Linked DNA regions of Homo sapiens: region 1 is linked to region 2. Evidence: promoter capture Hi-C in human tissues and cell types (Jung and others, 2019). All regions are on one chromosome and are shown on one strand. The core of a region is centred on a gene start or on the middle of the fragment in contact, and the rest is flanking DNA. Distances in the headings are between cores, read along the strand shown. Region 1 has its middle 12 kb from the start of CACUL1. Region 2 holds the start of EMX2 (empty spiracles homeobox 2).

Evidence for each region. The method cuts DNA at HindIII sites, captures the fragments that hold promoters and counts their contacts. A contact is called where the count stands out against the background at its distance.
Region 1: a fragment that was not itself captured here is called in contact with the fragment with the promoter of EMX2 in region 2 in 1 of the 25 tissues and cell types used here (dorsolateral prefrontal cortex).

The regions. Positions count from the first base shown.
Region 1 is chr10:118,764,832-118,769,508 of GRCh38, forward strand. No RefSeq gene overlaps it. Among named protein-coding and RNA genes, the nearest start is that of CACUL1, 12 kb to the left of the region's middle. The HindIII fragment of the contact is 5,691 bases long and covers 1-4,677 here.
Region 2 is chr10:117,539,772-117,544,445 of GRCh38, forward strand. EMX2 (empty spiracles homeobox 2) reads left to right here and starts at 2,975. Exons shown (of 3, transcript NM_004098.4): 1 at 2,975-3,902. The coding sequence starts at 3,497. It also overlaps EMX2OS. RefSeq lists an enhancer at 4,190-4,674. The HindIII fragment of the contact is 12,526 bases long and covers 1-4,674 here.

The sequences.
Region 1 (4,677 bases), core at 913-3,412, 1.2 Mb after region 2:
AAAACTAGAGTTAAGTTTGTCTATTTTACTTTTTGAATGATTAATTTTTTTAATTTTTAAAGAAAATTTAAAAGGAAACAAACATGTTTGTATGACCATGAAGAAAATTAATGTATGATTTTCCAAAAATTTCCTTTAATTTCTTTGGAGATTATTTTTGGCCATTTTAGATCAGGATACAATCTGGAAAAAGATTTTAATAAATTGAATAACATGCTTCTGTTGTCAATTTTCTTATTACATCCCAGCATTAAAGAATTTGAAAGGAAAATACTTAAAAGTACTGTATTGATCTTGATGTTGCTTAGAGATAGTGAAACTCATATTACTGGTAGAAATTCGTATAACGAGGCCTGGCGCGGTGGCTCACGTCTGTAATCCCAGCACTTTGGGAGGCCAAGGCAGGCGGATCACAAGGTCAGGAGATCGAGACCATCCTGGCTAACATGGTGAAACCCCATCTCTACTAAAAATACAAAAAATTAGCCAGGCGTGGTGGCAGGCACCTGTAGTCCCAGCTACTCAGGAGGCTGAGGCAGGAGAATGGCGTGAACCTGGGAGGCGGAGCTTGCAGTGAGCCGAGATTGCGCCACTGCACTCCAGCCTGGGCAACAGAGCGAGACTTCGTCTCAAAAAAAAAAAAAAAAAAAAGAAATTTATATAATGAAATTAAAATATTTTTACTATTTTCTGTGACAGTGATTGATTATATACAGCCTAACCCCATTAAAATGTTTGAGCATGATATATTAAATTTATAGTTCATTTCCCATCTAAGTATGGCTTTAAGAACTTAATTGATAATTCCAGTTGCTCTGACCTCAGCAGAACATAGTTTCTGCATTTTCAAATTAATGAAAAACACCCTAAGAACCATAATGTCCCCAGAAAGGTTGCCTAATTTGTCATTACTCTCAATAGAACACAAATTATGTAAAAGTCTTGATTATAACAACATAATTGGTAATTTACTTAAAAGAAGGCAAGAAAATTAACTTTCATAAAATACATATAATTTATGAATTATGTATTTTTTTATTACTCATCCACATGTTGCCAGTCCATCAAAAGAACACCCAGACATACACAATAATAGTTCCATTCAGTCATCCTTGTTATTTTACCATAGCTTTACATACATTTTTTATTTTGTTATCATCTGAAGGTATGTTTGTCAAGGAAGGAGGATAGGAAGTGTGTTACTTAGCAGTTAGCTGTATGTATAACATTTAAATATTTAGACATACAAATGAGTCATTTTGCACTCTTGCTGCAAATGTTAGAATTAGGCCTGGTGAGGAGGCCAGGGAGGTAAGAGGCCAGAGGACTGGAAGGGCCATCCGTGGGGATGTTAATGTTTCCCTCAAGACAATGAATGATGACAGGAGCTGGCATGGAGATTAAGGCCATCCAGGAACAAAAAAGAGGAGGTTGGCCGGGCGCGGTGGCTCATGCCTGTAATCCCGCACTTTGGGAGGCCAAGGTGAGCAGATTACTTGAGATCAGGAGTTCAAGACCAGCCTGGCCAACATGGCGAAACCCCATGCCTACCAAAAAATACAAAAACTAGCTGGGTGTGATGGCACGCGCCTGTAATCCCAGCTACTCGTGAGGCTGAGGCAGGAGAATTGTTTGAATCCTGGAGGCAGAGGTTGCAGTGGGCTGAGATCGCACCACTGCACTCTAGCCCAGGAGACGGAGTGAGACTCTATCTGAAAAAAAAAAAAAGAGAGAGAGAGAGGGCGGGGTTGATAATGACCAGGAGATTGCTTCTATGAGCAGGTGAGGTGGAAAACTTCAATGGTGGGAGCCTCAGCGGAAAGGGAAGGGAAGGATTGAAATGGAAGCAGTGTGGGAACAAGGAAGACACCAACACCACCTCCCTATCAGAGGAATATGGGACATGAGAAAACAGTGTGCCCTTCAGAGGTCACAAGGGACGCAGTGCTCAGAGAATAGCTCAGGTTAAGGCAAGAACCTGCAGGGAATATTTCAAGCAAAAAATACATCAAAGAATGTGCTGCCGGGCGCAGTGGCTCATGCCTGTAATTCCAGCACTTTGCGAGGCCGAGGCAGGTGGATCACCTGAGGTCAGGAGTTCAAGACCAGCCTGACCAACATGGTGAAACCCTGTCTCTACCAAACATACAAAAATTAGCTGGGTGTGGTGGCGCACGCCTGTAATCCCAGCTACTCGGGAAGCTGAGGCAGGAGAATCGCTTGAACCCGGGAGGCAGAGGTTGCAATGAGCCGAGATTGCGCCATTGCACTCCAGGCTGGGCAACAAGAGGGAAAGTTCATCTCAGGAAAAAAAAAAAAAAAAAAAAAAACTCAGAGGTGTATTAAAAGTCATTGCTTGTACTTTGGGTGATGAAACAACATCGAGTGGTCCAGGGTGTCCAATCCCAATGGAGTCTTAGAGGAAGAGGGTACCTGGGCCTAACACAGTTTAGCTGTGGCCTGCAAGGGAGGCCCTTCCTGGCACTGAAATGTAGGACTGGATCTCCACTGTCAGCCATCACTGCCAGGTGCCATAGGCAGATCTGATGTTGGCAGCTGTGAGCAACAAGACACCTGGTTATTCGATCTTGGCACCAACACTCTCAATGGATTAACCCTGGGTAGAGGCCAGGGTGCCTTTTGAAGGCCACAGTAATCATCCAGGAGGAGTTGGTATCTATCTTGTCATATTTAAGAGGCAGCAGATACAAATGAGTCTCCACTTCACTTGTTTCACACACAGTCAGCTCTTTCATACATCATACCTCAAATTGCCTTTCATACTCTAAACCCAAACATCAGCTTTGGCACGGGGGTGCCTGCTGCTAGTCCACAGGTCAGTTTTGGCAGCAATCCTTTACGTATCTGGTCAATATTATATGTTTATAAAAATTGCATGTTTTGCCTCATTACTTCATAAAAATGAGTAGAAAATGGAAAACTGGATGATCTGATACCAGTGATTAAGAAAAAAAGCTATAAAGTTAATCCAATTTAGACACAGATAGAAACCATTAGGAGGAGGCAAGCAGGCATTCTAATCTCTATCCATCATTCATGGGACTTCAGCCAGTCATTCACGTGTTTAATTGCAACGTAAAGAACAAAATTAAGTTCAAAAGGCAACAAAGTACTATCAAGGACTGTTGGAAAGGACAATTGTAATTGAGGATTTTATAATATTTTTAGCTTTATGAGAACCGTTCAGTTGTCCCAACATTTTGAGAGGCATGTTTTGTAAGGAAACAGAGGCCTTCCTGTGCAGTCATCAGAGATTCAGTATCTCCGAGGTGAGAGTTTAAGCATCATCCTCAAGGTTTGAAAATGGGAAGGTCATTGACGTGGTTGTATAATTCTAAGTCAGGGAAGGCATCTGATAGCTGTTGTAAAGCGACTGGGTGCCTGGCCCATACCAGGGGCTTTTTCATCCGGCCTGGGCTGCCTTTCCTCTAGACTAGAACTCCCCTTAAAACCAGTGCTGAGGAGCCTGAGGGTGAGGATGGCCACAGCATTATACAGCTTTTCCATGTGGAAAAGAGCACCATGCCTAATAACACAGTCATGTGTTACTTAATGATGGTAATGCATTCTGAGAAAGGGGTTGTTAGGCAATTTTGTTGTTGTGGGAACATCATAGAGTATACAAACCTCAACAGCACAGCCTACTACACACCTAGGTTATATGGCATAGCCTGTTGCTCCCAGGCAACAAACCTGTACAGCACGTGACTGTACTGAGTACTGTAGGCAACTGGAACATGTTGTGGATCTAAACATACCTAAACATTGAAAAGGTACAGCCAAAAAATATGGTATAAAAGATAAAAATGGTATACTTGCATAGGGCACTTACCACGAATGGAGCTTACAGGGCTGGAAGTTGCTCTGGGTGAGTCAGTGAGTGAGTGGTGAGTGACTGTGAAGGCCTAGGACACTGCTGTGCACTACTGTAGACTTTACAAACACAGTACACTTAACACTAAATTTATTTTTAAACATTTCTTTCTCCAATAAGTTAACCTTAGCTTACTTTAACTTTTCTACTTTCTAAGCTTTTTAATTTTTTAACTTTTTGACTCTTTTGTAATAACACTTAGCTTAAAACACACGTTGTCCAGCTATACAAAAATATTTTCTTTCCTTATATCCTATAAGAAAACTTTTTTCTATTTTAAAATTAATTTTTTACTTTTTAAACTTTTTTGTTAAAAACTAAGACACAAACACACATTAGCTGGGCCTACACAGGGTCAGGATCATTAAGACATCACTAGATGACAGGAATTTTTCAGCTCCATTATAATCTTTTGGGACTCCCATCACGCATATGGTCCGTCGCGGACCAAAACATCCTTTATGTGGTGCATGACTATATCAGTAATATTAAGGCTACTACTAACAGTGATATTAATGGCAAACATTCACTGCATGTTAACTGTGTAGGATATAATAAATTCCTCTTCAAAGGGTTTAGCCTGTAAATTGTTAAGTACAATGAGTTCTGAGATCCTCTCCAAGGAACTAATGTATCAGTATGTTCAGCTCCCCTGTTCTTTGTCCTTCATTTTAAAGTTTAACTTCCTCATAGTTTCAGTAAACAACCTTTTCCACCAGTTTTAATCAGTAGTTCACATCTGTTCCCCTGGTCACCTGCTCCGTCCTGACTCATCCTGGTCA
Region 2 (4,674 bases), core at 1,725-4,224:
AGGAAGGGGGACACCAGATCTCAGATCCTGCTGCCCCTTTACCCCTGCCTACGTGTTGGCTAGCTAGAGCCCCTGGGGCAAACCTGGCCACAGAAGGGCAGTTTATAAAAGGCAGGTAGCCTGCAGAGGATGCCGACTGACTGAAGTGGGACTGTGGAGCACTCTACCCCTCTACTGCAGCCAGATGTCCCTGCCTGGGGCAGAAGGCTGAGGGGTCCCATCTCCAGCCCAACACTGTCCTGGTTAAGGGAATAATGATTGCACCTTAGCGCCCAGGGCTGCAAGTTTTAAAAGAGGGAAGGCACCCATCACCCTTATACATCACAAACCATCTGGGTCTCACCCAATCTCCCAGACAGACTGGATACCTGTTGCCCTAAAGGTCAATGACTTTTATGCCCCCATCCAAGATCACTAAGGGTGGAGTTTCAGTGGCTCCAGTTTGCAACCTCTGAGTCTCAGGCTGAGTTTGGAGGGTCTGGCCTGAGGGCACTGCCAGAATCTGGCCCTCCAGTCCTCCTTCTGAAGTTTGCATGAAAGGTGCACTCTCCTGCTTGCCAGGATTCAGGATGCACAGTCTGCCTAAGCTGAGTGTTTGTTTCCAGCCTCAAAAACCTGAGGGCGGACCTCTAGCTCCACCCTAAGCTTACTGGCTGGGCACAGCCAAAAGACCTCCCCCCTCTGCCATGTCTTCAGGCTCCCTGCTGGCCTAGCTGGGGTTAGAGGAGAGGCCTGTAACCTCACAGCCTAATTGAGAGAGGGATTTCCAAACTGTAGACAATATTTTGGGGGACAGTGGTCCAGGCCCAAGGGAGGTGCATCTTTAAGTGCACCCCTACCCCAAGGGCTGGATCCAAAGCCCAGAATCTTTGGGCCTGGAAAAAGGGGAGGAGGAGAAAGCAAAGCCACCTGGAACTGACAGAGGGACAATACTGGGCTAGGACCCCAGCCCAGAACTTCGAAGCCTAAGGGAAAGGCAGGTGTCTCCCACTGTGAGGGCAAAGCTGAGGCGCACACCTGTCTCATCTGTGAAGATGTGTATGTGTGTTCCCTGGGAAGGTGTGGGGTGGGGGCAACAAAGATGATCTCTGCCAGTTCCTCACGAATCTGTCTGGTGCCCTGACAACCCCGGAAAACACTGCTCCCAACTCCTCTCTTGCCTGGTTTCCCAAAAGAGGTTTTTGGACACTTGCCCCAACACAACATTATATCTGGAATAAAGGAGTAATTGACACAAACATAAATATACACCAGATGAAACCAAGGGAGGAAGCAGGTAGCTCGTCCTGAGACCTGTCCCCTCAACTATGCATCTGGTGGCAGTGCAGCCTGGCTCACGGTGGACTTCACTCTTCTCCTCCCATTGCCATCGGCTTCCCAGGTTTCACGGCAACCTAGTCACCAAACACAGGCAATTCTGCGTTCTTAGGAGAAATGACAGGGGCCTGGGAGTAATAGTTTTAAACGACGCTAGAATTTTTTTTTATCATTAATTGTAAACGTGCAAAATACCTGCTGGTACTTCACTTTAGAAGAATGTAATTGGCAAAAGGAAAAAAAGGAAAAAAGAGGCGGCTGATGAATAGATAATAGATCTTTAACCACCAATAAACAGAGAGCAGCGCCAGCAGCCTGGGGATGTGATCATAATTATGCCGCCGCGCGAGCCAATGGGGACGAGGGAACTCGGTCCTAAAATCATCCCAAAACCGAAGGCGAGCTCGAAAATGCGGACACGGCCCGGGACCGGAGATGCGATCCGTAGTCGTTAGTTGCACTGGGTTTGCACAGCAACCACCACCCCCCCACCAACCCCGGGACAACAGATGGCATAATAATAATAATAGAAATAATAATAATAAAATAATATCATCTATAATAATAATAACATTGACCACACTGACAAAAATAATTACGACGGAACCTTAATAGTACAGTAGCACCATATCGGGCTCTCCCCTGACCTTGGACTGCCGGTCCCAGATATTCCAGAAGGAATTGTTTTGGGGAAGGAGGTGAGCACCCTCCCAGACAGAAAACGCTAGAGACCGTGGGGCGAGAGAGGGAGAGAGTTGGAAGCCCACTGCTCCGGCGGGGTCGGCAGCTCCCGGTCTCAACTCGCAAACGAACGAGCCGGGTCAAGAATCGCGAACGCACCGACCCTGGGACCTCGAGGCTAAGCGTGGTTGATGGGGTGGGAGGACCCCGTACCCCTCACTCCAGGATCCCTCCTGGCCTAGGAAACCGCTGGGAGTTTTGCTAAGTGTGGGGATTGGTATAACCGAACGGCGCCTTTAGCCCGGGAACCAGCCCCTGCCCGCTTACCCTCGCGGTGCTCTTGGGGCGATCCCAGTTCTCCCGACGCGGGGCCGCGTAAGGCAGCAGCGGCGGAGCGCTAGGCTAGAGGAATCTGTCTGTCCTTCTGTCCTACCAGCTTGGGCGAGGCAGGCTCGGGATTCAGGGGGCCGCAGCGGAGGCGGCGCCGGCCAGGGACTCTGCAGGGACCGGGGTGCCCCGGAGGGAGTGGTGCTGGTGGAGGAGGAGGCGGTGGCTGAGGGGGAGTAGGTGGGGAAAGAGGAGGAGGAAGAAGAGGAGGAGGAGGAAGAAGAGGAGGAGGAGGAGAAGAAGAAACTGGAGGAAGAGGAGGAGGCGAAGGAGGAGGAGAAGCCGCAGCGGGCGCCGCAGGAGCGAGTGAGCTGGGAGCGAGGGGCGAAGGCGCGGAGAAGCCCGGCCGCCCGGTGGGCGGCAGAAGGCTCAGCCGAGGCGGCGGCGCCGACTCCGTTCCACTCTCGGCCCGGATCCAGGCCTCCGGGTTCCCAGGCGCTCACCTCCCTCTGACGCACTTTAAAGAGTCTCCCCCCTTCCACCTCAGGGCGAGTAATAGCGACCAATCATCAAGCCATTTACCAGGCTTCGGAGGAAGCTGTTTATGTGATCCCCGCACTAATTAGGCTCATGAACTAACAAATCGTTTGCACAACTTGTGAAGAAGCGAACACTTCCATGGATTGTCCTTGGACTTAGGGCGCCCTGCCCGCCTTTTGCAGAGGAGAAAAAACTTTTTTTTTTTTTTGCCTCCCCCGAGAACTTTCCCCCCTTCTCCTCCCTGCCTCTAACTCCGATCCCCCCACGCCATCTCGCCAAAAAAAAAAAAAAAAAAAAAAAAGAAAAAAAAAGAAAAAAAAAGAAAAAAAATTACCCCAATCCACGCCTGCAAATTCTTCTGGAAGGATTTTCCCCCCTCTCTTCAGGTTGGGCGCGTTTGGTGCAAGATTCTCGGGATCCTCGGCTTTGCCTCTCCCTCTCCCTCCCCCCTCCTTTCCTTTTTCCTTTCCTTTCCTTTCTTTCTTCCTTTCCTTCCCCCCACCCCCACCCCCACCCCAAACAAACGAGTCCCCAATTCTCGTCCGTCCTCGCCGCGGGCAGCGGGCGGCGGAGGCAGCGTGCGGCGGTCGCCAGGAGCTGGGAGCCCAGGGCGCCCGCTCCTCGGCGCAGCATGTTCCAGCCGGCGCCCAAGCGCTGCTTCACCATCGAGTCGCTGGTGGCCAAGGACAGTCCCCTGCCCGCCTCGCGCTCCGAGGACCCCATCCGTCCCGCGGCACTCAGCTACGCTAACTCCAGCCCCATAAATCCGTTCCTCAACGGCTTCCACTCGGCCGCCGCCGCCGCCGCCGGTAGGGGCGTCTACTCCAACCCGGACTTGGTGTTCGCCGAGGCGGTCTCGCACCCGCCCAACCCCGCCGTGCCAGTGCACCCGGTGCCGCCGCCGCACGCCCTGGCCGCCCACCCCCTACCCTCCTCGCACTCGCCACACCCCCTATTCGCCTCGCAGCAGCGGGATCCGTCCACCTTCTACCCCTGGCTCATCCACCGCTACCGATATCTGGGTCATCGCTTCCAAGGTACGTGCCACGTCGCGGAACTGCAGCGCGCCGCTCCCGCCGCATCCTTCACTGCCCCCGGCCTGCTCCGGGTGGGCGCTTGGCAAGGCCTGGGCGGAGGTTCCTCCGGCTCGCGGGCCAGCGCGCCCTGTTGGGAAACTAGGCGGCGCGGGGCCGGGCGTGGTGTCGATCCCCAGTCTCCGAAGCTACGACTGGTTTGGAGTGATGGCCTGCGGGCCGCTTGACCCTTTGGGAAGGGGTGCGAACGGAGAAGTTGTCCCCCAGTGCGCTCGAATCAGAGCAGGCTGGGCTGTGCGTGCCCGGCGCCGCGGAGCCCAGAGCCCGCGGGATCCCCAGGCTCCTGGTACCCTCGGCAATGCCCCCAACCGTCCTGGCTCCGAGGGGCGCGGACAGGACTCGGCCGCCAGGCTTGCTTTCGACTGCGTTCGACCCTGTTCACCACCCACTTTGCGCCCCTTCAGTCCAGACCCGCGGCTTCTTAGTCTTCCACCCTCTTCTGGAGGCGAGAGGATCCTCGCGCCCCGGGAGAAAAGTATGGGATTTGTTTTTTCTTTCCTGCTTTTCGGAGGCCTGGGGAGGGGCGGGAACCCGTGCGGGAGGAAAGCTCCAGGGCTTGGCGCTCTCGCCGCGACCTGCTTAATTGGGGCGCCGAGCAGCCACAGCGGGAAGGCAGGTTCGGTCTGGTTTTTGTTTTTCTTTCTTTCTTTAAAAAAAAAAAAAAAGAACCTGGTCAGGAAACTGTCTTAGAGGGAAATATCTGTTCGTGTGTTTT